Linked DNA regions of Homo sapiens: regions 2, 3, 4, 5 and 6 are each linked to region 1. Evidence: promoter capture Hi-C in 16 types of primary human blood cells and fetal thymus (Javierre and others, 2016). All regions are on one chromosome and are shown on one strand. Each heading gives the region's core, a stretch centred on a gene start or on the middle of the fragment in contact. The rest is flanking DNA. Distances are from core to core; before and after follow the strand shown.

Region 1 (4,678 bases), core at 1,489-3,988:
CGCCTTGTATAAAATAAAATGACAGGTTTAATGTATTGCAAAATACCATTTGAAGAGCTTCCTCATCTGAGAAAGCATTTGAATTTTATTTCTTTAAATGAATGTAACTATTCCCATGTGCATCTGTTTCAGACCAGAAAACTCTCTGGGTGCTTTTTCTAACCAACTTGAAGAGAAAATTCAGTTACTATTGCTTGTTTTTAAGCAAATCAAAAGCCAACTGAGGGCAATAAATGAATTGCATGATCATTTACACTCCCTGGATTATGTATAACCAAAGAGTGAAGAGAGAAAAACTGTGTTTGCATTCATGGAAGATAAATTAAGAAAAAATTTAAAAGTGTTTTGTGTGTGCATGTGTGTGTGTTTGTGTGTTTGTGTGTGTTTATTCTTTTGTTCAACTGGGCTGGGTTTTAAAAATTCTTGGATCAGCTTTCATCTTGTAGGAAAGTAAGGTAGCAATTTTTCTTAAGGAATTGGCAGTGATGTGCTCAAGTGCTCAGCTCTTTCCTTCTGGCAGAAAGAGCTTGGAGCAGGTTAGAGTGGAGGAGGAGCCAGCAGTGACTAGGAGGAGAGGGGACTGCTCAGAACCTGCCATTCAAGGCTGGTGGCAGCTTTTTACAGGCTGCCAATAGGAGTGTGGTGGCAGCAACTTATGGGTATGCCAAAGAAAATGGGACCATATGCCAAACTCTGGCGTGTGCAGCACCTACAGCTTGCCAGGGCAATGGCATAGGCTCCAGACAGACTTTTAATGTCCTGTCCCAGAAAGTAAGCAGCCCATTCCCACTTATTCCACGAGATTGGTAAGTGGTTGGATGTTTTAAAGTTAGGAAAACTCCTGGTACAGAAATGTGCCATTTGGCTTACTGTCATTTAGTCATTTTTCAGATTAGAAAAGAAGGGAGAGAATCGGCAGTTTAATATTCACGTCTATTAAGCCATGCAAGCAGTTGCCGAGTAGCAGTCCATTCTAGGGTAAACAGGCAATGCTCTCTGGTCAAATATAGGTTCTATGTTAATGAATGAAATATATAAAACAGGACACTTATTTGTTCTCCCATATAAAAGAAGTCCTGCAAAGTCCTGGATGACAGAACTTAATGTATGCTTTATTGTAATCCTTTTTCTAGTCTATCTTCTTTTCTAAACTGTAAACAATCGCAGCAATTTAGTTCAGCTAAAAAATGAGCTATACAGTTTCACATTTGAACTTATTAAGTTTTCAATGGGCCAGTGAAAAACGTCCCCCCTATTTTTTTTTTAACTGCTTCCCCTATTTAAATGCTCAGCATAAGAACCCTGGTCCTATACAATTTATCCAAAGCTTGGGCAGCCCGAGAGCCCTTTTATCCCTCACTAGTGAATCAGTTCTATTGTAGGAGAGAGACATTCTTTCCTCCCCTTTTCGCTTAAAAAACATAACAAACCTGAATAGACTCCAGGCTAGAGTAGTGGAGAGAGTGATTTTTATTAGATCTAACATAGTTATTGGCAAATGCCTAAAGACAATATTTAAAAAGAGAGCTAGAGAAAGAAAAGGCTTTCACTTTATGCCTTAAAGGACAGATTGGTTACAATTTAACATCTAAGAGGAAAAATTTATAGAATTAAATGGCCTAACATTCCTCTTTCTTCAACATACATATGAGAAATCTAAGCTAAGAGGACATCTGGAATGGAACGTTATTCAGCAATCAGAAAGCAAAAATTCAAACCATTGATGTTTTGATGGAGACAAACACAACTAGATTCACAAAGAGGAAAGCTGCAACCTATTGAAGTTAAAAAAAATTCCATATGCATTTTACCTTTTGGGCAGTTCTATTTCAGAAGCCCTTTGTAATATGAAACCCACTGTAGATAAGATACAACATGAAGATAGTCTGTTTTGCAGCAGCAGGAAATCAAATTGGTTCCAGAAACGAAGTTATATGACAAATGGTTTAATAGTATTGCTAGAATTGGAAATCTTGATTGAATTATTTTTAAATCATTAAAAAAAAGATTTTGAAATAACTTTGCCATGCTGTATAAATTGGTGATGGTGGTAGGGGGTCCACACAGGGAGTGTTGCTGAGGTTAGGAGGCATCTCATTTTATTGGCCTTTTAACTAAAGCATTATAATCTGTTATCAAAATTTAAAAGTTCAGTGGTGATTTACTGTTAATTCTGGTTTGCAACAAATATTTTCAGACAAACACGATACTTGAATTAACATAGCTAATATGTGTTGTGGAGTATTAAACAGGTTAACAAATATTGATATATTCTAGTATCATTTCCAAATTATTTTTAGGTTTAATCTCAACACCAGTCAGCTTTGCTTTACTTAAAAAGCATCAGAAAAAGTTCATTAAGTCTTAGGCAGGTCTTGGATTGTAGAAGAGACTTCTAAGTAGTTAGCAAGATGTATCACTGACAGAATAACCCAGTGCCTAATGCCTGTAGGTGAAATGAAATCGTTCTTCTGGCTGAAGTCAGGAACAAGTTAAAATATCACTTAGAACACAGCATACGACTGCAGAGATTTAGGAGAAATCTTACTTAAATAGGATGTGACTTGACGTTTAGGACTATTTTCTAAAAAGTCAAAAAACTTTTCCCCCTTCAGTACTTACAGTCTTTGAAGACTAGAGCCGGATCTCTGTGAGGCAAGACTTGGGCAATGATGTGTCTCAGAGATTCCAAGGTTCTGTCCATCTTGGGTCTGCCTGTGTGAGCCTCCTGTACAGAGTGTCCTCATGCCTGAATTCTTGCAGTCCTGGGCTGAATTTCTGCAGCTCATTGATGCACTGGATTACCAAGGAATCCCTTTTAACATCTGCCAATCAGACATTTCCCAGAATCTAAAGACCCCTCAGGGGGCCCTCTTCCCAGGCTCACTTATCTTTGTTGTATGCTGAGCTAATTAGCTCGAAAGGCTGGCTGACAGGCGGGTTCCCATTGCTTTCTTCTGTTAAACACACCCACCTACAGGCTAGCTGGGGAAGCTCGCTAAATTATGAAAACAGCTTTCCTCTCCAACCAGATTTTGTCTGAATGCTGTGCAGCTTTCTGACTTGAGTATTTCTTCTGGCCCTCCATCTTCAATTGTGTTGCCCCCAGGAATATGGAATCAGGAAGGTTATTTCTCCAGGAAATTTCCTGAATGACAAGACAGCTTCCAGCTCAGGACTGCCAGCTATATGTTAACAGTATAATCCCTATAAATCTAAATTTTCAGTGTAATTCTTCTTTGGTAAAGGAGTGCTATAAAGATTATGGGGCTGGGTGCAGTTTATCATGCCTGTAATTCCAGCACTTTGGGAGGCTGAGGCGGGCAGATCGCTTGAGCCCAAGAGTTCCAGACCAGCCTGGGCAACATGGCGAAACCCTAACTCTACAAAAAATACAAAAATTAGCTGGGTGTGGTGGTGCATGCCTGTGATCCCAGCTACTTGGAGGGCTAAGGCAGGAGGATGGTTTGAGCCTGGAAAGTCGAGGCTGCAGTGAGCCCAGATTGTGCCACTGCACTCCAGCCTTGGTGACAAAGTAAGACCCTGTCTCAATTTTTTAAAAAAATCTTTCAATAACTACCTTAAGAAACATATATGTATTTTCTCGTCCTGTTTCTTTGTTTTATTTTTCTTTTTAATAGGGTCTCATACTGTCCTCCAGGCTGGAGTGCAGTGGCGTGATCATAACTCACCGCAGCCTTGACTCAAGTGAGGGGCTTGAGCCCTGGACTCAAGCAATCTTCCCATCTCAGCACCCCAAGTAGTTGGGAGGCACACGCCACCACGCCTGGCTAATTTTTAAATTTTCTGTAGAGATGGGGTCTCACTGTGTTGCCCAGGCTGGTCTCAAACTCCTGGGCTCAAGCAATCATCCTGTCTGGGCCCCCAAAGTGCTGCGATTACAGGCGTGAGCCACTGCACCCTGCCCTGAAATTTTTAATAATTATTAAGTGAAAGGAAGTGAATTACATCAGAATTAATTAAAGTCAACCTTGGGAATGATTCACTTTGAAGGGTAAATAGGGAAACAAATGTTCCCAGGCAAGCTGTAAGACAGTCTGTCAGGTTTTACTTGCCCCTGCCCAATAGAAGTGACTAAAATTTGGGAGGGTTGTGGGGGGTAACAAGCCTTGGCTTCCAGAAGAGTGGCTCCTGAATTCAAATGCAAGGCTTAATTTAGTCCCTAGCTGTATCCTTTTTTTTTTTTTTTTTTGAGACAGAGTCTCACTTTGTCATGCAGGCTGGAGTGCAATGGCATGATCCGGGCTCACTGCAGCCTTGACTTCTCAGTCTCAAACGGTCCTCCCACCTTAGGCTTTCTAGTAGCTGGGACCACAGGCCCACGCCACCGCACCTGGCTAATTTGTGTATTTTTAGTAGAGAGGGGGTTTCACCATGTTGCCCAGGGTGGTCTCAAACTCCTGGCCTCAAGTGATCCACCCATCTCGGCCTACCAAAGTGCTAGAATTACAGGCATGAGCCACCATGCCTGGCCTTTAAAGATCTTAAGAAAACAGAAATTCTTTTTCTACCTATTCATGATCTATACTACCTGTAACACTTTGTTAAATAATCTTTCCATAGAAGACATAAATATAAGTCACAGGATTCCTTTTCCATAATAAGGATTTATACCAGATATAAAATAACTAATTTTAGTGGTTGTAACCAATGTTAC
Region 2 (4,678 bases), core at 1,437-3,936, 240 kb before region 1:
TGAGAATAAGAAGGCAAGGAAATCAGTAGAAGAAAATTGTACAGAGAGAAAAGGGTAGCAAAGAGAGAAGAGAGATCCTAACTAATAAAAAAAAAGTTAGTAACTATTGTATTTTTTGCTAAAGTTAATAATTTTTATTTGTTTAACTTCTAATAATATTGAGTTTTTACCTCCTAGTGGTTTGGCAACCTGGTCACAATGGAATGGTGGAATGATATTTGGCTTAAGGAGGGTTTTGCAAAATACATGGAACTTATCGCTGTTAATGCTACATATCCAGAGCTGCAATTTGTAAGTTCACAATTCTGTGTATCATACTATATGGTGTAAAGAATCATCAATTCACTATTAAAATTTCAAGTGAATGTTAAACAGAAAAACTACATAATGTTGTGGTTTTTGAACATATGGCATTTTGTTTGATACACGAAACAGATCACAGAACTGGATGAAACATTGAAGGTTTTAGAAAACAATCAACATAAATCTGTCACCCCAAAGTCTGTAAAGAGAGAAGGCAAACTAATACAAATGTAGAACTGTGTATGTGGGTTGAGAGGAAAGAACATCACTGTTTGTATACATCTGCACAGGAATGCTCATGGCTACTAGGTACTATAGAGAGTTCTCGGCATGTAACCTGAAATCAACATCATTGGGGGTGTACTTTTCTAGAATTTCCAAAGGGTCTGCTGGCTTCCCCAAAATGTGTGAAGGGATTTCTTCAGGTACGTCTTTTTTAAAAACGAATATAGTGGTCTGAACACTACACAAATTTGCATATCAAGGTGGTTAGTAATGGTTAATTAGGTCTTTGGGATATATATTTAGTCCAGTACACTATAGACAGACATGGATTCAAAGTTAGGCTCTTCTTGTTACTGTGTATGTACTGAATTTGTGGCTTAATGCCAAAGCTTTATATATTCTTATTTGTAAAATGCATATACCATATCTCCCTTGCAGAGGTGTTGACAGGATTGCAGATGATAGGTCTAGGCACGTAACAAGTATTCACTAAATGGAAACCATTATTTTATTTCTGTATTCAAGGGCTGGTACATGATAAACATTCAGGCAATGTCTGAAGGAATATTGGATTTGTATCTTTTTAAAGTAGAGAAACTTTAAAAAGATGTATTCCCCTTTGGCCAAAGGGGAATACATACAAGAAAAGAAACATCTCCCAAGAAATATCGATTGAAATCTTACCTCTAAGAACATCTTACTAAACCTACTATGTTTTCTATTGCTTTTACAGTGTCAAATAGAAACTAAAACTAAACATTTTTCTCCCTGTTTAGGATGACTATTTTTTGAATGTGTGTTTTGAAGTAATTACAAAAGATTCATTGAATTCATCCCGCCCTATCTCCAAACCAGCGGAAACCCCGACTCAAATACAGGAAATGTTTGATGAAGTTTCCTATAACAAGGTAGTAAATATCAGGTGCAGGTGGAAGCTCTGCTTTCAGAAGTGTAATAATGACTATAGAATCAGCAGTTTAAGTCACTGGTGCCAGTTCCTGCTACTTGTTTCACTTTTTATTTGTTCACTTTTCAGACATCACACATGTTCCGTAAAATTTAAGCTTCCTTTAAAAACATACCATACTACCATTTTCTTTATCTCTTTTTTCAACTCTTTTGTTTTTTTTTAAAGGGAGCTTGTATTTTGAATATGCTCAAGGATTTTCTGGGTGAGGAGAAATTCCAGAAAGGAATAATTCAGTACTTAAAGAAGTTCAGCTATAGAAATGCTAAGAATGATGACTTGTGGAGCAGTCTGTCAAATGTAAGTCATATGTTGGGTAACGATAGACTGTTATTTAATCTAGAAAGTAACAGAATAATTGTGAATGTTTATAAATAGCTATATATTGTCAGTCAACCATATTTATTCTGCTTGCTATGTTGTCATGGTCTATAGAAGGCAGCACTTCCCTTTTTCCTCTAACACCACACTAGGATGTCACGCTGGGGTGGCCCCAGGGGCTCACTATTTGACCTGACTTTCTTTGGTTTCTCTTCTACGACTAATCCTACACTTTTATGTTCCCTTGATCTAAAATCTTTAAAATGTTGTAATTTCTACCATATAACACCTAATCTCTGGCAAATTTTAAGGTTGTCAACTGTATTCCCCAATGTGTATATATTTGTTGAGCAAAACTAATCTTCTCTCTTATAAGAAGAAATCTTGCTCAATCTCTAGATCATTGTGCCTATATTTCTAGTGCCTTTACTAGCTGAAATGCCCTTTCTTCTTTCCAACAATTCAAATGCCACCCAACTTTTAAGATCCAGCTGAGATTTCACCTCCTCCTTACAGACTGTTCCAGCCCTCATTCGTTTGCCTGTCTGCTAAATTCTTAGCAGTGCACTTATAATCTGTTCCACATAATAGTACCCTCTTTTATTGTTTTTATTAGTTCAATAATGATAATGTGCTTAAGAACAAAAATTGTGTCTATTCTTTTTTTAATGTGATAGCACCTAGCATATGTTGATCTTATAATAGTGATTAATAAGCAGTTAATGATTGATTAAAGAACTTATGGTCTGTCTTTGGGATTCATGTAGATAATAGGAAAGGCAAAGCAGAAAAATTCAGTTAATTCAGATGATTCTAATAATTATTAAAATATTTTAAAATTTCCAACTGCAAAGAAAATAATTTTTTATAGAACCATTAGACCCAGAGAACTCATACCTGTAATTAGAAGAACCCTAAGTCATTGTAGACAGAAGAGATCCTTTCTTTTTTACAAGCACTTGTGTCCCAGGGACAGTAATAATATTGTTTAATATTTCTGCAGCAGTTTACAGTTTAAAGACACTTTCATGGCCGGGTACAATGGCTCACGCCTGTAATCCCAAGACTTTGGGACACCAAGGTGGGTAGATCACTTCAGGTCAGGAGTTTGAGACCAGCCTGGCCAATTCGTGGAACCCCGTCTGTACTAGAAATACAAACATTAGCTTGGCATGGTGGTGCTTGCCTGTAATCCCAGCTATTCGTGAGGCTAAGGCAGGAGAATCACTTGAACCCAGGAGCTGGAGGTTGCAGTGAGCCGAGATTGCACCACTGCACTCCAGCCTGGGTGACAGAGTGAGACTCTGTCTCAATAATAATAATAATAACAATAATTAATAATAAATAAAAAATCAAAGTTAAAGAATAAAAAGCACTTTCATGTTGATTATCTCATTTGATATTTTTGTGCCCTTATAAAGCACACTTATGGTCCAACTGATGTGTGATTTTGTGGTTAAAGAAACAAAATCCAACAATCAAAAATTATTTCACAGCTCCTATTTTTTACTTGCATTTCTTGAAAATCCTGAGACATATTCAAATACATAGTTTTTACTTACAAAAATACTTATAGGCCTGGTGCGGTGGCTCATGCTTGTAATCCCATCACTTTGGGAGACCGAGGTGGGCAAATTGCCTGAGGTCAGTCTGGCCAACATGGTGAAAACCCATCTCTACTAAAATACAAAAAAAAAAAAAAAAAAAATTAGCCAGGTCTGGTGGATCACCTGTAATCCCAGCTACTCGGGAGGTTGAGGCAGGAGAATCACTTGAATCCAGGAGGCGGAGTTGCAATGAGCTGAGATCACACCACTGGACTCCAGCCTGGTGACAGAGTGAGACTCTGTCTTAAAACAAAACAAAACAAACAAACAAACAAAAAACATATAAAGATGCTCTTTACTATCCATTTCCATCACCCACCGTCAGTGGTCCAGACACACTTTCTCCATGCTTCCGCTTAAGCTTCTCAGCACCAAGTATTGTGTTGCTTCTGTCTCTCATCCCTCTCCATTTCCCTCTCCCTTGCCATGTGTGTGTGCATGTATGTATATTTGTAGACATCAGTTTAGCTCCCCTCCAACACGGAAGAATCTATCATTTGGTGTGCATACTGGCAGTAGAGGGTGGGAGTTAAAAAGAAAATTTGGCCAGCAATTACCAGATCATTTTAGGCCAGCAGTGTAAATTCCTGTGTTATTTTTTGTCACATCATGCTTATAATCATCTCAAAAGATAAAGTAATCATCATTACTCTGTGTTTATAAGTGAGAAAACTGATACTAAGGGACAGATTTGCCCAAAGTCACCAAGTCAGTGAGAAAATCAGTACTTAAAATTTGTCTTCTAAGTCCAATAGTTATTCAATTATATCACAGCTAGTTCCTAGTTTTAAGAAAAGTCCCCCATCAATCTTCCCCTAAAGGTCCTAGATTTTGACCAACTCTCTTCTGACACCAAAGGGCCCTGTAGTATTAAAATAATAAATTACTGAAAATATCTTGCCCACCATTGTGTCACATAAAGTCAATTCTAATACATGTCAATAGCAACTTGAGAATGAGAAGAATTAGTTGCTGTTATTTTTCATAAGATCATTTAAAGGCATTTGAGAGCCTTAGCACATTCTTCATTTTTTCTCATTTGCAGTTGCCCTTAAGTACTGGTTATTCAAGGGTCAATTGCCAAGTTGGTACTTTTCTTAATTCTTATTTTATTCCCAGTTAGTTCGAAATATTGTACACTCATCACATGCTGTTGTGATAGCCACTGTAGGAATACCTTGGTAAACAAAGGTGTTTCCCCTACTGTCAAAGAACTTGTAATATGTCAGGGGAGAGTTAACAGTACTAGACAGAG
Region 3 (4,678 bases), core at 1,443-3,942, 220 kb before region 1:
AGATTTGACTTGGGCTCATATGACATAAGGATGATCATCTCTGGCACAACAGCTCACTTTTCTTCCAAGGATAAGTTGCAAGAGGTTTGTGACTTTCTGTTTTTAACAATTTCAAAATAAATGTTCAAATTGTGGAATTGAAAGTAAACTTAGATATAATCTGATTTGAAGTTCTCATTTTAGTTTTTAAAAAAGTTGTTTGTCCAATGCCATATAGCAAGTAAATGGAAGGGACAGGATTAAAACCTGACACTTGGCCAGGCACAGTGGCTCACACCTGTAATCCCACCACTTTGGGAGGCCAAGGCAGGTAGATCATGGGGTCAGGAGTTCGAGACCAGCCTGGCCAATATGGTGAAACCCTGTCTCTAATAAAAATACAAAAATTAGCAGAATGTGGTGGCACGCACCTGTAGTCCCAGCTACTTGGGAGGCTGAGGCAGAAGAATCACTTGGACCCAGGAGGCGGAGGTTGCAGTGAGCTGAGATCACACCACTGCACTCCAGCCTGGGTGACAGAGTGAGACTCCATCTCAAAAAAACAAAAAACAAAAACAAAAACAAAAAACAACAGCAAAAAAAAGCCCCTGACTCTTAAAATACTTAAAATACGTGTATTCATAGCATTCAAAATGAAAATAGACTTGAGAGGTGAGCCCTTTTGTATTATTTCTTTCATATTGTATTACGATGCAAGAGTGATTATATTAAAGTTTGGAAGCGTACTTAATGATCTTTTTAACAAAACTATTGTTGGTAATTCTAGTTATCTTTTTTTTTTTTTTTTTTTTTTTGAGGCGGAGTCTTGCTCTGTTGCCCAGGCTGGAGTGCAGTGGCTTGCGATCTCGGCTCACTGCAAGCTCCGCCTCCCAGGTTCACGCCATTCTCCTGCCTCAGCCTCCCGAGTAGCTGGGACTACAGGAGGCTGCCACCATGCCCACCTAATTTTTTTGTATTTTTTTTTAGTAGAGATGGGGTTTCACTGTGTTAGCCAGGGTGGTCTCGATCTCCTGACCTCGTGATCCACCCACTTTGGCCTCCCGAAGTGCTGGGATTACAGGCGTGAGCCACCAGCCTATCTTTTTTTTTTTTTTAAAGCATTATAGTCTTTGCACCTTCTTTTCACAATAAATCTTGAATTTATTTACCCTTTAGGCAAATTCAGAATTCCTGAACTTAAATCCCAGCTCACCATTTACTCTATGACTTGGGTAAATCATTTAACTTCTTTAGCCACATTGTGGTCACTTGTAAGATGAGGATTTATAATTTTTGTCTTACTTTACCTATTGTTTGAAAATAAAGTGAACAATTATGCAGAAAAGTAGAAAATAACCTTTTAGAGGTTGGCAGAGAAATGCCTATACCTGTGTGTATGTAATTTGCAAGCTCTTTTGAAAATTTTTGGAAGACGAAGTGGTTTTATTGTTTCTTTATTTTTGAAACTGCCTCGCTCTGTCAGCCAGGCTGGAGTGCAGTGGCACCATCTTGGCTCATTGTAACCTCCACCTGCTGGGTTCAAGCAATCCTCCCGCCTCAGCCTTCCAAGTAGCTGGGACTACAGGCATGCACCATCATGTCCGACTAATTTTTGTTGTTGTTGTTGTTATTTTTTGTAGAGTCAGGGGTTCTGGCATGTTGCCTAGGCTCGTATTGAACTCCTGAGCTCAATTGATCTGCCCACCTTGGCCTCCCGAAGTGCTGGGATTACAGGTGTGAACCACCACACTCGGCCAAGACAAAGTGTTAGTAATTTTTTTCTTCAATATTTTACAGGTGAAACTATTTTTTGAATCTCTTGAGGCTCAAGGATCACATCTGGATATTTTTCAAACTGTTCTGGAAACGATAACCAAAAATATAAAATGGCTGGAGAAGAATCTTCCGACTCTGAGGACTTGGCTAATGGTTAATACTTAAATGGTCAATAGAAAAAGTAGGCTGGGCGCGGTGGCTCACGCCTGTAATCCCAGCACTTTGGGAGGCTGAGAAGGGCGGATCACGAGGTCAGGAGATGGAGACCATCCTGGCTAACACGGTGAGACCCCGTCTCCGCTAAAAATACAAAAAATTAGCCGGGCATGGTGGCAGGTGCCTGTAGTCCCAGCTACTCGGCAGGCTGCAGCAGGAAAATGGCATAAACCCGGGAGGTGGAGCTTGCAGTGAGCCGAGATTGCACCACTGCATTCCAGCCTGGGTGACTGAGCGAGACTCTGTCTCAAAAAAAAAAAAAAAAAAAAAAAGAAAAAGAAAAAGAAAAGAAAAGAAAAGGTACATCAGACATGACTGCCTGCATGAAGTCAAACAGGGTAACACCAGTGAAGCTCAAGTCAAGAGCTGTGGATATTTTGTCTAACCAACAAGAAGTCTCAAGAAATCAGGCAGTGCAGCTGCCTGCTCTCAGCTATCGTATCCAGCCAAAAGATGCATGATGATGGAGTGGTGGGGGAAGGCCAGTTCAGTATCCTATTTAAAAGTAAACTTCCTGAATAATGGATATATGTGGAGATACAGACATAGATATATAGATACAGCTGTAATTATTTAGCCTCAAGTGACTTTCTCCATTGCTTCACGCTATGCCACTATTTTGCTTCTTTAATTTTTTTAACCTTGCTTAGTATTCTATAGTTTGCCCAACCAGTTTTACGTCCAAGGAAAATTAGCCAATGCATAAAATATACAAACTATGAAAGGCAAGGATCAGGAAACCAGAGACTTTGCCACCAAATCTCAGATTATTAGAAACTAGGTGTCAGGGTTTATCAAGAAGGCCAGGAAGGCCTTTTGGGTTAAGCCTTACATTCATGAAGAACCTCAAGGGTAGATTTTTGAGAGCATTCCAAATGAATGGTCTCTGGTCAAATGAATGAATGGTCAAATGAATAAATCTGCCCTCACAGAGATACAAAAGGAAAAGGAATATAATTCATACCATTTGGTTTAAGCCTTACATTCATGAAGTACCTCAAGGGTAGATTTTTGAGATCATTCCAAATGAAGTCGAATCTGCCCTCACAGAGACACAAGAAAGGAATATAATTCATACACTATTGCATTTTTAATAAATCTTTTGAAATTTGCAGAATTAGATTGTATTGTGTATTTTCGGTTAAATGATAATTGAATGTAAATATTTAGATGCAGCACCATATTTTATAACCCAGCTTTAGCATTTCTTCATATTTTAAGGAAACCCCCCACCTCCTTCTTTTAAGGGCGCTTCTTGCTCTCTGAAATGCCCTGCTAAATGCTTCTCTTAATTATTTGAATAAGGTAGTTTGGAATAAAGAAAGAAAAGATCACTCTACATACAGATAGTAAACTTAATTTGTGATCCTATATATGAGACAGTATAAAAATACAGATAAGTTTTAGAAAGACTCAAAACAATATGTAAATGACTGATGTTTGCATTATTAAGGAAGACTTGGGATGTTGGGTCAAGAGGGGAAAGTGTTAGTCAATCCACTTTGGAGCAATATCATGAAGGTCAATTATAATTCCATATACCTTTCTTTGATGCCACAGTCAGAGATAGAATACAGTTTGGGTGGCCATGGATGTGCCCCAATACAGTACACATTTTTTGGTTAAATTTGTTTTCAGATCATTTCATGGAATCTTTGAAGTATCTTTGACTCTAACTTTGACTTGGTGGTGGACCTTCCTTGGTTTTTATAACACCTAAGAGATATCCTTTAGAATTACATGTATTTTAGCATAAGGAAATTGAAAAAGTAAAACATACTGGTTTTTTTCAACAAGACCATATGTAAATTAAATAGTGAAATGTGTATGAGTTTCAGTAGAACTGTACCATCAACAATGTTTCCATAAATATGCAGAGTTCTTTCTTTTGTATTGTTATTTACAATATTGTTAAATTGAATGCATTTGCAATTTCTAGGATTCTAAAGAATTGAGTACAGAAAGTAGCAATTTTATTATTTGATGATAATATGAGAATTACTGTGCCAATACTGTTTTGATAAATAAATAGATTTTTAAAAATAAATGTATTGTACTTATTAGTGTAGTATTTCAAAAGCCTTGTGGTAGATGCCAGGCCACCAACACCAACTTCAGACTTGGTTGTGTTACTTTTACTTTCTTTTACCCTGAATGAATCAGATGTGAAAAAGTTATATGCAAGATCATGAATATATGATGAGGTGAACAGGTTTGACTTCTCTGGGCCTCCCCCATTCTTCACAAGGCCCATTGAGAATTATGTGGTTCCAGCAACTCACTCATAATGAGAAATCTTTCAGATTATGAAAGCCCAGAACCAATGGCTTTGTATGGGGAAGAGTGGACACTTTGACCCTCAAGAGTCTAACTAGCCAAGTGTGGCGGCTCATGCAGGTAATCCCAACACTTTGGGAAGCCAAGAAGGGGGATTACTCGAGCCCAGGAGTTCAAGATCAGCCTGGGCAACATGGCGAAACCGTTTCCACAAAAAAATACAAAAATTAGCCTAGCATGGTGGCACATGTATCCCAGGTACACGGGAGGCTGAGGTGAGAGGATCACTTGATCCTGGGAGGTGAAGGTTGCAGTGAGCCAAGATCATGCCACTGCACTCCAGCCTGGGTGACAGAGCTAGACCCTGTCATTTAAAAAAAAAAAAAAAGGAGTCTAACTGCCATGGTAAGGATTTTCTTGTCCTATATCA
Region 4 (4,678 bases), core at 773-3,272, 200 kb before region 1:
ATAAGAGAAATGAATAGAAGAACCTAGTTTTGTTGTCATGCTAATATGAAATATGGAAACACAGAAGAAATAAAAAAGCAATAAAGTTTTGTCTAAGACAGTATTCTAATTATGAAATAAATGTACAGAAACTGTTCATAACTGTTTGCATGTCTACTAATTTAGTGTAATACTCCTATTAGGAAACAGCAGTATTAACCCTGTCTATGAAAACATTAGGAAATTGAGATTTGAAAGAGTTTAGCCAAGATTACCCCAGATGTTGGGATGGACCTAGATGAGGCCTGTGGTTCTTGGCAGTCGAGGTGAGGTCAGTGCAGCTATGTTTTGTCAATTAGTCACCTCATGACTTGAAAACTGTAGGGCAGCAGTCCCCAAACTTTTCGGGACCAGGGACCACAGTCGGGGGGATGTATGTATACTTTCTAGTTTGTGATATATTCTAAAGGGGAGAAGGTTTGGGGATGACTCAAGTGCATTATATTTATTGTGCACTTTATTTCTATTATTATTGCATTGTAATATACAATGAAATAATTATACAACTCACCATAATGTAGAATCAGTGGGAGCCCTGAGCTTGTTTTCCTGCAAGTAGACAGTCCCATCTAGGAGTGGTGGGAGACAGTGACAGATCAGGCATTAAATTCTCAAAAGGAGCACACAACCTAGATCCCTCACATGCGCAGTTCACAATAGGGTTCGTGCTCCTATGAGAATCTAATGCCACCACTGATCTGACAGGAGGTGGAGCTCAGGTGGTAATGCTAACGATGGGGACTGACTGTAGAGATGAAGCTTCACTTGTTTGCCTGCTGCTCACTCCTGCTGTGTGGCCTGATTCCTAACAGGCCAGAGACTGGTACTGGTCTGTGGCCTTGGGGTTGGGCAAACCTACTGTAGGGGGCTGGAGTTGAGCTGATACTACTAGGCCTTTCCATAGTATAATTGGAGCAACCAGAAAGACACAGTCTTTTATTTATTTATTTATTATTATTTTTTTAATTTGAATCCGTAGATAAATTTCAGCAACTTTTCTGAAAGTTTGCAAGAAGCCAGGATTGAGAATGAAGGGACATTTTGGAGCCCTTGTGGTGGTACAGTTCTTTTTATATCTAGATCTTGACCTAGATCTACATATGGCCGTTATAGAGAGTGTTGCTTATTGCCTTGGTGTTTCTGGACAGTAAATGGAACATCAAGAGTTCTCTGTGTCCATGGAAGGGTGGACAGGATTCCCTTGTAACCTTATCCATTGTTGTAATTCATTTGTGATTGTCCTAGCAGCACCTGAAGGACTTTGCATTTTACAAAGATGTTTAGAGAAAATTGGAAGAGGAGAATCAATGATGAAGATGAAAGAAATGTGGAGATTGGGGGTAAAGGAAGAAGCTGATAGGCAGAGATTTTAAAAATGGTCATGCCTTGATCCTTGCAAGTCTTTGGTTCAGAAATGAGCTTCAGTTGGAGAGCAGGACACTGTTGTATGAGGTTGAAGACAGAGTCTAGGTTGGAAGGGGACAGGTAGGTAGGTCTGGTTGGATTAATGGAATTGGGGGCTCAGGGGACAAATGAGTTAAGATTGGCATTTGGGAGCCTTGCCAAGAGATAGAAAACATTTGCCAGAAATTTAAGCATACTGTCTTTTTTATAGTCAGAAAATTCAGTCACTCGTAAGTTGGGACTGTTCACTTGTCTGAATGTTTTAGATTTAAAGAAAAAATATAGCTCTTTGATAAACAACGTGGTGTGGAGCTGTGGTAAGCCTGCTCTTGCTCCTGACTCACCGCCGCTCGCTCTCACCAAAAAACAGGTTGGTCAGGAGATACAGAAAAACGCCCATGAAGCCAGAGGTGGCAATTCACTGAATTAGAATCACTCTAGGCCCAGCGCGGTGGCTCACACCTATACTCCCAGCACTTTGGGAGGCTGAGGCAGGCGGATCACCTGAGGTCAGGAGTTTGAGGCCAGCCTGGCCAACATGGTGAAACCCTGTCTCTACTAAAAATACAAAAATTAGCTGAGTATGTTGGCACGTGCCTGAAATCCCAGCTACTCGGGAGGCTGAGGCACAAGAATCACTTGGACCCAGGAGGCGGAGGTTGCAGTGAGCCGAGATCGTGCCACTGCATTCCAGCCTGGTGACAGAGCGAGACTCCATCTCAAAAAAAAAAAAAAAAAAATACGAGAACACTTGGACACAGGGTGGGGAACACCACACACTGGGGCCTGTCATGGAGTCGGGGGAGGGGGGAGGGATAGCATTAGGAGATATACCTAGTGTAAATGACGACTTAATTGGTGCAGCACACCAACATAGCACATGTATACATATGTAACAAACCTGCACGTTGTGCACATGTACCCTAGAACTTAAAGTATAATAAAAAAATAAATAAATAAAAAGAATCACTCTAACGAGCTGCAAGGTAAAATCCTTGGAGAAGGTGTGTGCCGACTTGATCAATGGATCAAAGGAAAAGAATCTAAAGTGATAGGACCAGTTTGAATGCCTACCAAGACTTTGAGAAACATTACAAGAAAAACTTCTTATGAAGGTTCTGAGACATGGTATTGTTTCCAGATGAGAATCCATAAGTGACTCATTGACTTCCACAGTCTTTCTGAGATTGTTAAGCAGATTACTTCCATCATTATTGAGCCAGGAGTTGAGGTTGAAGTCACCATTGCAGATGCTTAAGTCAACTATTTTAATAAATGATTACCAGTTGTTTAAAAAAAAAAAAAAGAAAACTATAGAGAGCTATCTACCTTTTGGGACTACCATGGTAGCAGTCATTTGCTGTTCCTTTTTTTGGGAGGGACGGGAACAGGGTCTTGCTTGGCTGGAGTGCAGTGGCACGGCCACAGCACTGCAGCCTTGACTTCTCAGGCTCAAGCGATTCTCCTGCCTCAGCCTCCCGAGTAACTGGGACCACAGGTGCACACCACCATGCCTGGCTAATTTTTGTATTTTTTGTAGAGATGGAGTTTTGCCATGTTGGCCAGGCTGGTCTCGAACTCCTGGGCTCCAATGTTCTGCCTGTCTTGACCTCCCCAAGTGCTGGTACTATAGGTGTGAGCCAGTGCGGCCCTGTGGCCAGCCTACTATTCTTTATAGCCTGGCTTTGCTTCACTTTTCTACTGGTGCTTGTGATAGAACAATGAACCAATTAATTTTTTTAAAATTCCATCCTTAACATGTAAATGAGGAGGAAACCAGGTCATTTGCCAAATAAGGAAAATTCAAGCTTCCAAGGGAGTTTCAAAAAACAATGGAGGATCAAGTTCAATTGTAGGAGACTTTTTGAAATTCTTTTTCTTCTAATACATATTGCTTAATGAAGGTACTCCTGGGCATTCCACATATTTCAAAAATGTAGTCACTGAACCAGAACTTGAATCAGTTGTCTGAATTTCTCTGGATTGTGGGGCTCAGAGTCTTCTCCAGCCAATGATCTGGGGTGAAGGAAGTTAAAGAAGGCTTCTTCAACTGAGGGAACAGAAGAATGAGGAGTGCAGTGAGAAAAGGATGCCTCTATGGGTTGGGTGTGCTCCCTTCCTCTTGCAGCAAGTGATGAACAGTGCTATGTGGGAGCATTTCCCGGACAACTGACTCAGGTGTCATTCAGTGCCATAGAGAAAATTTCTGGTAAGGAAGGAGGCTTAAGCCATAGTATTTCTCACAGCTGAAACTGTTATTTTGTCAAATTTAAAACAGTTGTTAGTATATTCATCAATGAAACATCATTACATTGTCAATGAAACATTTCATTGTCAATGAAAAGAGTCAAACTGTAAAATCTTTAAAGAGGCTTATTCTGAGATAAATAATGTGTGACCAAGGCCCAAAGCACAGTCTCAAGAAGTCCTGAGAACATGTGCCCAACATGGTTGGGTTACAGCTTGATGTTATACATTTTAGGGAGACAGAAGTTATAGGCAGACAACAATCAATACATGTAAAGTGTACATTGGCTCAGTCTGGAAAGGGGATAACTCAAAGCGGGGACTTCTATTCCAGTTCATAGGTGGATTCAAAGATTTTCTTTTTTGTTTTTCTTATTTTTGCTTTTTTTTTTTTTTTTTTTTTTTTTTGAGACAGAGTCTCATTCTGTCACCCAGACTGGAGTGCAGTGGTGCAATCTCAGCTCACTGCAAACTCCGCCGCCCAGGTTCAAGCAATTCTTGTGCCTCAGCCTCCTGAGTAGCTGGGATTATAGGCATGTTGCCACCACACCCAGCTAATTTTTGTGTTTTTTCAGTAGAGATGAGATTTCGCCATATTGCCCAGGGTGGTCTTGAACTCCTGGCCTCAAGTCATCACCCACCTCAGCCTCCCAAAGTGCTGGGATTACAGGCATGAGCCACACATGTGGCCACATTCAAAGATTTTCTGATTGGCAGTTGGTCGAAATAATTAAGTTATTATCTAAAGACCTGGAATCCATAGAAAGGAGTGTCTGGGTTAAGATAAGGTAAGGGGTCATGGAGACCAGGGTTCTTAATATGTAGACGAAGCCTCCAGGTAGCAGGCTTTCAGAGAATAGATGGTTATTATCTCTTATCAGAACGTAAAATGTGCCAGACTCTTAGTTAAATCTCTCCTGGATCAAAAAAAGACCTGGGGTGGTGCAGTGGCTCACACCTGTAATCCTAGCACTTTGGGAGGCCAAGG
Region 5 (4,678 bases), core at 975-3,474, 170 kb before region 1:
TTTCTTCCCTGCTAGGCACCAGGAATACAAAGATGAATGAGGTTATGAACCTCTCCTTGGAGGAATTATTCATATTTGGAGCAAAATTTATAATTGCAGTTTACTTATGCAGAAATTCTTTTTTTCTACAGCATAAACCGGGCCTTGAGAGTTTCCTAAACCTTCTATCCTCAACTTCTAATTCTTGAACAGCAAAAAGTTACCAGGATTGAAATGTATCCGTTATTCTAGAAAAGTAAATGTAGAGCAGGTTTTGGAACTCAATATTTCATCCTAAATGTGAAAGACTGTATAGGCAAATAGTGTGCATAATTTCCTTTTTCCAGGGTTGAGGGGCTGCCAGTGGTGTGTAGTGGGGAGAGAGTGAAGTGACTCATAATTCTGGAATGATTGTTTTGATCTCCTCCTGTAGCCTCTGTAGGATACTGGCAGGGCAACCAGCATAATTAACACTACACAGTCTAATTATAAACAAAACTCTATGTACAGTGGCTACCAAGAAGCAAGCCTGTACTGGATAATCCCCCAAGTTGGCAGGATTACTTTTAGAATGATTATTAGATAGTGTCGTTTACTATAAATCAAGTTGTTTTTCTTTGATTGTCCAGGGACTTACCCTGGGGGGAAAGTGAATATAATAATATTTGTGGAAGTCTTCTGGGTTATTTTTTTCAGGGCCCATTTAAGGATTTCTTTATTGCAGTTCTTATAACCTTTTTGTCTTAAGAGAACATTTGTACATCTTACTATGTATGGCGTACTCTTTTAGGGAGAGTAGGAAAATTGGTCAGAGTAAGACATTTGTTCCAATAATAGTTGGATTGGTTTTTTTAAAGGTGAAAGAAACTAGGAATTTGAAAAGATTACATTGGACCGGTATAATAAATAAAGAGGGAGAAAAAAAGCCTATGGGCTGCAGAGAAGAGGATGGGATAAGGGGACAAAGTGAAGTGGCTATAGCTGCCATGCATGCTTGAGAGAAACCAAGATGTTTGTAACATGTGTATGGTCTCACATGCTGTTCAGAGGCAGAGCAGGCACTGTGCGTGGTTGTATGTGCTTTAGGGATTTGTGGAAGCATGGCTGAGAGCTGAGGACCAATTTAGTTTGTTTATATACAGGGCCACTGGGTCTCTTAGATTTAGAACAAAGATCCTAGCTGTGGAGATTTGTTTCACATAGCTGTGACCTGAACAACTGCAGAATGGTTATATTTATGCAAAATGAGCCTCAGAATTGTGATTACCTCAAATGAAGTAAGAATTTTAAATCAGATACTTCAAAATGAGGGCTTTTTTTCCTATCCAGAAAAACTCAGTTAAAATTTAAGTGGACACTTAAAAGGAGTTTCCCTTTTTAAGAAAGAAATACAGAAATCCAAATACAAAAATGAATGTTAAGTAGTTTTTTGCTTAAGAATGCTTGCTTTTTTTTTTTTTAACTTTTGATGAGCTCATAAGAAGTTTCCTTTAAATAGCAGTTCTGTAGTTCATTTTAAATATTTGGATTTACAAAGAAAATTTCCCTAGCTTTTTACTTGAAAGGAGAGGGAGAACATACTGTATTTTTCTAAATTTGGGCATAACTGGTATTATTACTGGCTAAATAATTTTGTGTTTGCCAGATAGTCTTGAAAGAGGGACAGATGTAAGACGGCTGGGCTTGTTAAAAGATCTCTGTCTCTAGCCTGTGACCCAGTTCTGATTTGTCCCTTTAAATTACCTAACTAGACTTTTGAGAAGTGAAAAATTGGTTTTGGAGATGCACCAGGACAATGGTATGTGTGGATTTTTGGGCCAGTTTCTAGGAGAATATGAGTTAGAGCCGTCCACACTACTTTCCTGCCCTCTAGCAGCATTTTTTGCATTATTTTTCAGTTGTTTATCTGGTTTCTATTTTGTTGATTTTTGCCCTGTTTTTTTTTTATTATTTTTTCTACTTAGGTTTAATTTGGTATTCTTTTCTAGGTTCTTAGGGTGGAAATGTCGTTATTTTTAAACCTTTTCCCAATATAGGCATTTAAAGCAATAAATTTTCTTGAATTTTGATATATTATGTTTTTATTATTATTTATTTCAAATATTTTATATATTCCTTGTGGTTTCTTCTTTGACTTATGGATTACTTAAAGTCTTTTGTTTTTATTTTCCAAATATCTAGGGATTGTTTACCTAATTTACTAATTGATTTTTTAATTGTTTCCATTGTGTTTAGAGAACAAAGTCTCTAAAAAGCATATTTCAGTCTTTTGAAGTTGATTGTGATTTATTTTATTTTATTTTGCTTTATTCCATCTTGGTGAATGTTTCATATGTATTTCTGCAGTTGTTTGATTTTATATTCTGTGAATGTCAGGTCAAATTAGTTAATAGTATTGTTCCGATCTTCCGTGACCTTACTTATTTGTTGTCTACTTGTTCTATCAGTTATGAAGAGAAAGGATATGGTTGTGGATGTTTTTGTTTGTTCTATTCTTCATAAAAAACTTCTTTTTGAAACACTGTTATTAGGTATACATATTTAAGATTGATATCCTGCTGAATTTCTCCTTTTATCATCATAAAATATTCTTCTTTGTTAATCTATTTGTGTCTAAATTTAAAATGCATCTCTTACAGACAGTGTATATAGTTGTTTCTTGCTGTTTTGTCCCCATTGTGACAGTCTCTGTTACAATGTTTAATCCATTTACAGTTAATGCATAGGTCAGGTTTAAGTCTACCATGTTGCCACTGTTTTCATTTGTTCCTTTTGTTTTTGTTTATCTGTTTCTCCTTTATTCATTTTTTTTGGATTAAGTGGGCAATTTTAGTATTTCATTTTATTTTCTCTATTGGATTCTTAACTATGCATCTTTTTAAAATCACTTTTTCAGTGTTTCTTCTAGGATTAATAATATGCATCATTAAGTCTGTGTATAGTCAGTATTGTACCATTTCACATTCTATACCTGACCCTTCTTCCTTTCTGCTTAATTTCTCTTACTCAACTTCTGTATTCTCTGTGCTTTTGTTGTCTTTTATTTTTTGGTTTTAAGCATACAGTTTTTAAAGATAGTCTTTTAAGGAAATTATAAGAAGAATAAAGAATGTACACCTTTTATTTTAACATGTATTATTTCTGGTATTCTCTCCTTCCTGAAGATCTGAGTTTCCGTCTGGTAGTAGTTCCCTTCATCCTGAAGAACCTCCTTTAAAATTTCTTGTAGTATACATCTACTTGAGGAAAATGTGTTCTAAATGAATTCTGTAAGCTGTCATTTATTTGAAAATGTCTTTTACTCTTGATTTTGAAGCATATTTTCACTGTATGTGCAAAGTTGAGTTTAGAATTTTCTTTGTCTTCCAACTCTTTAAAAATGCTCTATCATCTTCAGGCCTCCACCGTTGACATGAGAAGTTAGTGTATGTACTGTTGTTCATCTGTATGTAGCATTGTTTCCAGGTTCTCTTAAAGGTTTTCTTTTTATCTTTAGTTTTAAGCAGTTTTGACCATGATGTGCTTAAGACATTATTATTTGTGTGTGTGTGTGTGTGTGTGTGTGTGTGTGTGTGTGTATTTATCTTTTTGGGGGTTTGCTGAACATTTTGGATCTGGTAAGTGGTGTTTTTCATCAAACTTAATAATATTTTAACTATTATTTCTTCAGATATTTTCTTCTGCTGCATTCTCACACTCCTTCTGTGGCTCCTGTTAGATACATGTTAGACTGTCTGATACTGTCCCCCAGATCCCTGATGCTGTGTTTATTTTTCTTCAATCCTTTGTCTCATTGTTCTTCAAATTGGTAATTTCTAATGATCTGTCAAGTTTATGGACTCTTTCTTTTGCTGTCTCCAATCTGCCATTAAGTCCATTTAGTAACTTTTTCATTTTATTTATTGAACCTTTTTCTCCTAGATTTTTCTTTTTTCCCTCTCATTTAGTTCTTTTTTAGTCTTGATTTCCCCACGGAGAGTCTCATCTATTCACATATTCTCATTTTTTCCTTTTTAAAATACATCTTCCTGCTTAATGATGGGGATACAATTGAAAAATAATAAAACACGTCTTCTTCAGGGATTCTTTTTTATTTATAATGGCTACTCTAAAGACTCACTAAATACAATGCAATATCTGGACCACCTTAAGATTGCTTTCTAATGATTTTGTTTACTTAGGGTTCACATTTTCTTGTTTCATTAAATGTCTAGTAATTTTTTATTACATATTGAATAGTGTCAATGGCACATGGTAGAGATGCTGAATTAAAAAAAACTCTGTAAAATGTTGATTTTTCTCTCTCTGTCTCTGTAGACAGCTTAGTTACTGGCTGATCACCTTGTGTAGGCTTATTTTTAAGGCAGATCTGTGGAAAGCCTAAGGTGTTTATCAGGCTCCTCTAACTTAGTGAGACTCATCCTTAAATACTTTTTCCCCTGTGGATTTTATTAGGGCTTGGTTTTAGGCTTTGTTACTATGGATCTAGAGTAGGTCTTATTCTAGGGTGTCACCTTTACTTCTACACTGAGGCCTTTCTAGTGTTTCAAGCTGATGCCTAGGGTGTTATGAGTTCTCTTTGCTCTGGCTGGGTTGACCTGCCACTACTTCCCTGCACTGCTTGACCTCTAGTATTTCTGTTCTGTCTTAACCTTATTGCAGCTACTTTCTTCTACACCTCATGTCCTAAATTGGCTAA
Region 6 (4,678 bases), core at 969-3,468, 160 kb before region 1:
GAAATTATTGCCAGAACAACTCAAAATTACAAAGTTTTCCAGAGCTTATATACCTTCTAAACTATATGTTTACGTGTAAGTGTGCATTTCTCTAAAGACATAAGTGATTAACTTCTTTTAATCCATAACTAAGGTCCGAGTCTTGAAGACCTTCCTCTTGAGCCTCAGTAAATTTACTTAATCTAAATGGGTCCAGGTGCTGGGGTGATTACCCTTATGTTGTCTCCTGCTAAATCACGGAGGTTTGGGGAGTTCCTTCAGACCTCCAGTAATTGTTTGTGGAGGCCTGGGGAGTTTCTTCAGACCCTCCAATAAAACTTATTTAATCCTAAATGGGTCCTGTTAAAAATTCCTTCATTATTTTGTCATGCTTTAAGACCCAGGCAAAACTCTTGGTGGGCTTTTGTTAAATTCCAGCCTTTGTATAAGGGCACTGGCTTTTAATATTTAACTTAACCACTCAGCCAGTACTGAAACAGTTGTTATGGAGGCCTGCGTTAGTGAGATCTGGCTTGCCACACTTGTGTTACCCACTCTTTCCAGAGTATACTTTCTTCCCTTCTTCACCTTTTCAAATACTCATCTTTTTAGGCCCTCTTCAGGTTTTCTGCATGTTTCCTTATAATATCTTCAACCTCTAGTCAGAATTTGTTTCCTTCCCTTTGTTCCCATTGCTTTATTTTCATTGTTAGGACATGACTTACAGCCTGATGTAAGTTTCTGTTCATTGTATAAACCTCTGCCTTTCCCAGTTTATTGCAGATCCTTTAGTAACTAGGATTGTAACATATTTATCTTAGTATACTTGGCAGGGTGCCTTGTACAGTAGGTGCTCAGTAACTACTGGATTGAATTTGTGTTTGTTTTAGGTACTTTGCAGCAACTCAGTTTGAACCCCTGGCAGCAAGATCTGCTTTTCCTTGTTTTGATGAACCAGCATTTAAAGCCACTTTTATCATCAAGATCATAAGGGATGAGCAATACACCGCTTTATCAAATATGCCTAAGGTACTGTTCTGTTCCTTGAATGTAAAAATCTTTGAATGGGTCTCTTTCTTTAAGAACACTTAAATTCCTCTTTGCCAGACTACAGTTGAGAATGATTAAAATCATATACATTAATATTCTTCCTTAAAATACTTAAATAAAAATTAAAATATATTGGCATCAGTTGGGAAGTCACCTTGAGGAGGACTTGAGGAAAGAGAAAGACCTGCTGGACTTGGAATGTGTGGATAGGAAATGTGAGTGTGCATTGTATATTAAGTTGTGCAAATATTAATACAATGAACTAGCAAAAGATTAGAGTAATATTTTCTGAGACAGGATGAATTTGCTATTCTAAACTGTTATTTGAGAGTGTTGAATAATAACTCTTTTTGGTGTTTTATTGGTAAATGAAAAACCAATATTGTTATAATATGGAGATTGACAACTAGAACAGGAGCCTCTTTCTTAGATGTTAGCTCTGTGTGGGATGCAGTGAGGGTGAAACCAATAATTGTTTTTATGCCAAACAAAACCTGGAGCCTAGGGGGTCTTTTTTTGTTTTTTTTTTTTTGGTCTTAGACACCTGAGGGACTGTGCAGCTTGATAGGAGCCTCCTGGACCCATGTGGCTAAGGGAGAGGAGCAGCAGCCATACCCAGCAGGCTATGGAGCCAATCCTGTAGGCAGCAGAGAGCATAATCTGTAACAAGACAGCACTGTACCAGCTTACTCTGCACACTCAGCCATACTCTTCACCTTCATCTTTCTCTAAAGAGGCAGATGCCTACTTTAATTTGTGGTTGGAAAATTCTATAAGGTTGCCTACATTCCCTCATTTTGTGTCTGCTGCAGACTTCTCTAATGACTTACTACTGACTTTGTTCCCACTAAGCTTTCTTGGGGGTCCTCAACATGGCACCCCATGAAGCCATTTCAGATCATTTGAAGGGATGTCGCAGCTAGAGCTCCTTCTGTGGATGTATTTGTAGCAGTAGAGTGGAGCAATCCCAGGTCATAAGGAAGGATTTTGGTTTTGGAGGTGTTCTAATGGGAGAAGCAGAACCAATGTGACTATCTTTAACTTAACATTTATTTGGTCATCTTTGGGACTAAAAACTCCTTGAGGAGTTTCACTGTGCTCCATATGTCCTCAGGATGAAGGATGGTACAACAGACTGAGACTAGGAGCCATGCTCTTTGCAGAAATTCATACTGAGAGGTTATAATATGCTAGCATCTTTACCATTTATTTCCTATTTGAATTTTCAGTTTCTCAGTTTGTTTGTTATTGCCATTTATTCCTATAGTTACAGAACTGTCTTTTCCCCTTTGCTTGTAGAAGTCATCAGTCGTTCTAGATGATGGACTTGTTCAGGATGAGTTTTCTGAGAGTGTGAAGATGAGCACTTACTTGGTTGCTTTCATTGTGGGAGAGATGAAGAACCTGAGTCAGGACGTAAATGGAACCCTGGTATGTTGATGTGGTAATTGTCTGAAAGCCTGTGTCACAAGAGGCTCAGAGGACCTCTTGCTTTAACGATTCCTGGTATTTGCTGTGTGAAATAAATAAGCTTTTAGATCACACTCTGACATTTTATACCAGAAATGCTACTTTTTTGCTTAGCTGTTATTTACTGTTACTAGTTTAATAGCTGAAAGTCAATAATTTTCAAGTTTTAAAAAATTTTACTTTTAAAGAGAATTTTAGTAAGACACTATATGTATACTAAAGCTTTTAGAACTGAGTGGTAGCCACTAGCCTTAGGGGGAATATTTAGATTTAAATAAATAAAAATTAAATACAATTTAAAATTCACTTCCTCAGTCTCACTAACCATATTTCAAGTGTTCAGCAGTGTTCATGTGACTAGTGGCTACATATTCGATAGCTCTAGGTTGTAAAAATTAGATGAGTCCTCCCTTTTTTCAAAGCAAATCCTGATGAGATTCCTCTTCCTAATGAATAAGATTGTCTATTTAGTTAAGGGTCTGGTTTATCTGTATTTTGCCAAAATTAGACTCTTCTGTTTTTCTTTATCATTTGTACCTGTTTGTAAATGATTATTTGATTGGACTTTATACTTTGATTTCATAGTAGAAACCTAATAAAGTTAATTTTTTCAAATACTGACAACATAGAAGGAGAAAAGGCATTCTATCATATTTATTAAACTAAAAACAATTATTCTTGATGATAGAAATATGATAGAATGTCTTAGTTTCTGTTTTCGTATTTTTGAGCTCTACCAGGGAATATACTGCTAGTTTTGGGTTTCCTTTCTAGACTAAAGAGCTTTATATTAATCACAGGATACTTGGATCTTATCATTTTGCTACTTCAAAAGGGTATATGTTTCCTATTAGAAAAGACTATCACGTCTATCCCATACCTTTCAGAGATAAGGACAGAGATAAGGATTCTCTGGTGATTTATCAGTAATAATACTGTATGCCTTTAATGATGCTACTCAAAAAGTAAACTAAGTTTTTAATGGTAAGTGTAGACTGTAATATTAAGCGCTAAATAATGGTTCACTCACCTTTGGATTGAAAGACTTTATGTCAAGGATTTTTCAGAATCCTTTCAAAAGGATATTATAACTGGCTTAAATCTGAAATAATTCAATTAATTCCACTTCAGGTGTTGCACTACATATTTAGCCTTTGATTTAGAGTTTGCAGCCTTGATAAAGCCTAAGAAGCCCAATCTAAAAGAGTCAGGTTTGCTGCTGCTTCAAGACTCAGCTGAATACTACGTTCTCCATGAAGCATTTCTTTCTTTCCCCAGCTGGAATTAATCATTCCCTCTCTGATCTTTCATAGCACTTTAATTATCTCTTTTTTGTAGTTCTTAATACTCATTGGTATAAAACCCCCAGCACTTTTTATGTATCCCAAAATGTATGCAGTCTTGGCATTTTCCCCCCTTCTTTTCTTCCTTCCTCTTCACTCTCTCTCTTCCTTTTTCCCCCTTTCTCTCATCTGCTGTGTTTGCTTCACACTACCTGTAGGATTACATTCAGATTCATCATTTGATAATCAAGGCCTTCCTTATAAATTCAGCAATATTTCTTTTCTTGTTTAAAATTTATTTTTTCCACCCATCTGCACACTGATCTTTCTTTTTTCTTTTTCTTTTCTTTTTTTTTTTTTTTTGAGACAGAGTCTCGCACTGTCGCCTGGGGTGGAGTACAAGTGGCACAATTTCGGTTCACCACAACCTCTGCCTCCCGGGTTCAAGCAATTCTCCTGCCTCAGCCTCCTGAGCAGCTGGGATTACAGGTGCCCTCCACCACGCCCGGCTAATTTTTTGTATTTTTGGTAGAGATGAGGTTTCATTATTTGGCCTGCTGGTCTCTAACTCCTGACCTTGTGATCCGCCCGCCTCAGCCTCCCAAAGTGCTGGGATCTTTTTTAAAAATTTTTTTAGTGACAGGGTCTCACTCTGCCACCCAGGCTGGAGTACATGGTGCAATCATAGCTCACCGTAACATTAAAGTTCTGGGCTCAAGTGATTCTCTCCCAAGTCATTGGGACTACAGACAGGCACCTGCCACCATACTTGGCTAGGTGTTTTGTTTTGTTTTTTTAATTTTTTGTAGAGGCATCTTGCTATGTTGCTCAGGCCAGCTTAAACTCCTGGGCTCAAGCAATCCTCCTGCCTCAACCTCCCAAAGTGCTGAGATTAC

Evidence for each region. The method cuts DNA at HindIII sites, captures the fragments that hold promoters and counts their contacts. A CHiCAGO score of 5 or more calls a contact.
Region 2: a contact is called between a fragment that was not itself captured here and the fragment with the promoter of LIX1 in region 1, in 3 of 17 cell types (fetal thymus, erythroblasts and M2 macrophages). The highest score is 6.1, in fetal thymus.
Region 3: a contact is called between a fragment that was not itself captured here and the fragment with the promoter of LIX1 in region 1, in 1 of 17 cell types (M2 macrophages). The highest score is 5.2, in M2 macrophages.
Region 4: a contact is called between a fragment that was not itself captured here and the fragment with the promoter of LIX1 in region 1, in 2 of 17 cell types (M1 macrophages and monocytes). The highest score is 6.8, in M1 macrophages.
Region 5: a contact is called between a fragment that was not itself captured here and the fragment with the promoter of LIX1 in region 1, in 2 of 17 cell types (M1 macrophages and M2 macrophages). The highest score is 5.9, in M1 macrophages.
Region 6: a fragment that was not itself captured here is called in contact with the fragment with the promoter of LIX1 in region 1 in 6 of 17 cell types (M1 macrophages, M0 macrophages, M2 macrophages and 3 more); the score reaches 12.8 in M1 macrophages.

The regions. Positions count from the first base shown.
Region 1 is chr5:97,139,873-97,144,550 of GRCh38, forward strand. LIX1 (limb and CNS expressed 1) reads right to left here and starts at 2,739. Exons shown (of 6, transcript NM_153234.5): 1 at 2,623-2,739. The coding sequence starts at 2,704. RefSeq lists an enhancer at 2,686-2,755. The HindIII fragment of the contact is 8,667 bases long and covers 1,326-4,678 here.
Region 2 is chr5:96,895,069-96,899,746 of GRCh38, forward strand. ERAP2 (endoplasmic reticulum aminopeptidase 2) reads left to right here. Exons shown (of 19, transcript NM_022350.5): 7 at 178-291; 8 at 1,305-1,436; 9 at 1,664-1,795. It also overlaps a transcript of ERAP1 not described here. Among named protein-coding and RNA genes, the nearest start is that of ERAP2, 21 kb to the left of the region's middle. RefSeq lists an enhancer at 2,058-2,117. The HindIII fragment of the contact is 2,192 bases long and covers 1,591-3,782 here.
Region 3 is chr5:96,915,686-96,920,363 of GRCh38, forward strand. It overlaps ERAP2 (endoplasmic reticulum aminopeptidase 2), which reads left to right. Exons shown (of 19, transcript NM_022350.5): 18 at 3-84; 19 at 1,777-4,018. The coding sequence ends at 1,920. It also overlaps a transcript of ERAP1 not described here. Among named protein-coding and RNA genes, the nearest start is that of LNPEP, 18 kb to the right of the region's middle. RefSeq lists an enhancer at 4,425-4,474. The HindIII fragment of the contact is 5,592 bases long and covers 1-4,678 here.
Region 4 is chr5:96,940,489-96,945,166 of GRCh38, forward strand. All of the region lies in intron 1 of LNPEP (leucyl and cystinyl aminopeptidase), which reads left to right. It also overlaps the pseudogene RPS20P16. Among named protein-coding and RNA genes, the nearest start is that of LNPEP, 6.7 kb to the left of the region's middle. The HindIII fragment of the contact is 2,453 bases long and covers 797-3,249 here.
Region 5 is chr5:96,967,828-96,972,505 of GRCh38, forward strand. All of the region lies in intron 1 of LNPEP (leucyl and cystinyl aminopeptidase), which reads left to right. Among named protein-coding and RNA genes, the nearest start is that of LNPEP, 34 kb to the left of the region's middle. The HindIII fragment of the contact is 6,549 bases long and covers 1-4,678 here.
Region 6 is chr5:96,984,211-96,988,888 of GRCh38, forward strand. LNPEP (leucyl and cystinyl aminopeptidase) reads left to right here. Exons shown (of 18, transcript NM_005575.3): 3 at 870-1,008; 4 at 2,329-2,460. Among named protein-coding and RNA genes, the nearest start is that of LNPEP, 50 kb to the left of the region's middle. The HindIII fragment of the contact is 679 bases long and covers 1,880-2,558 here.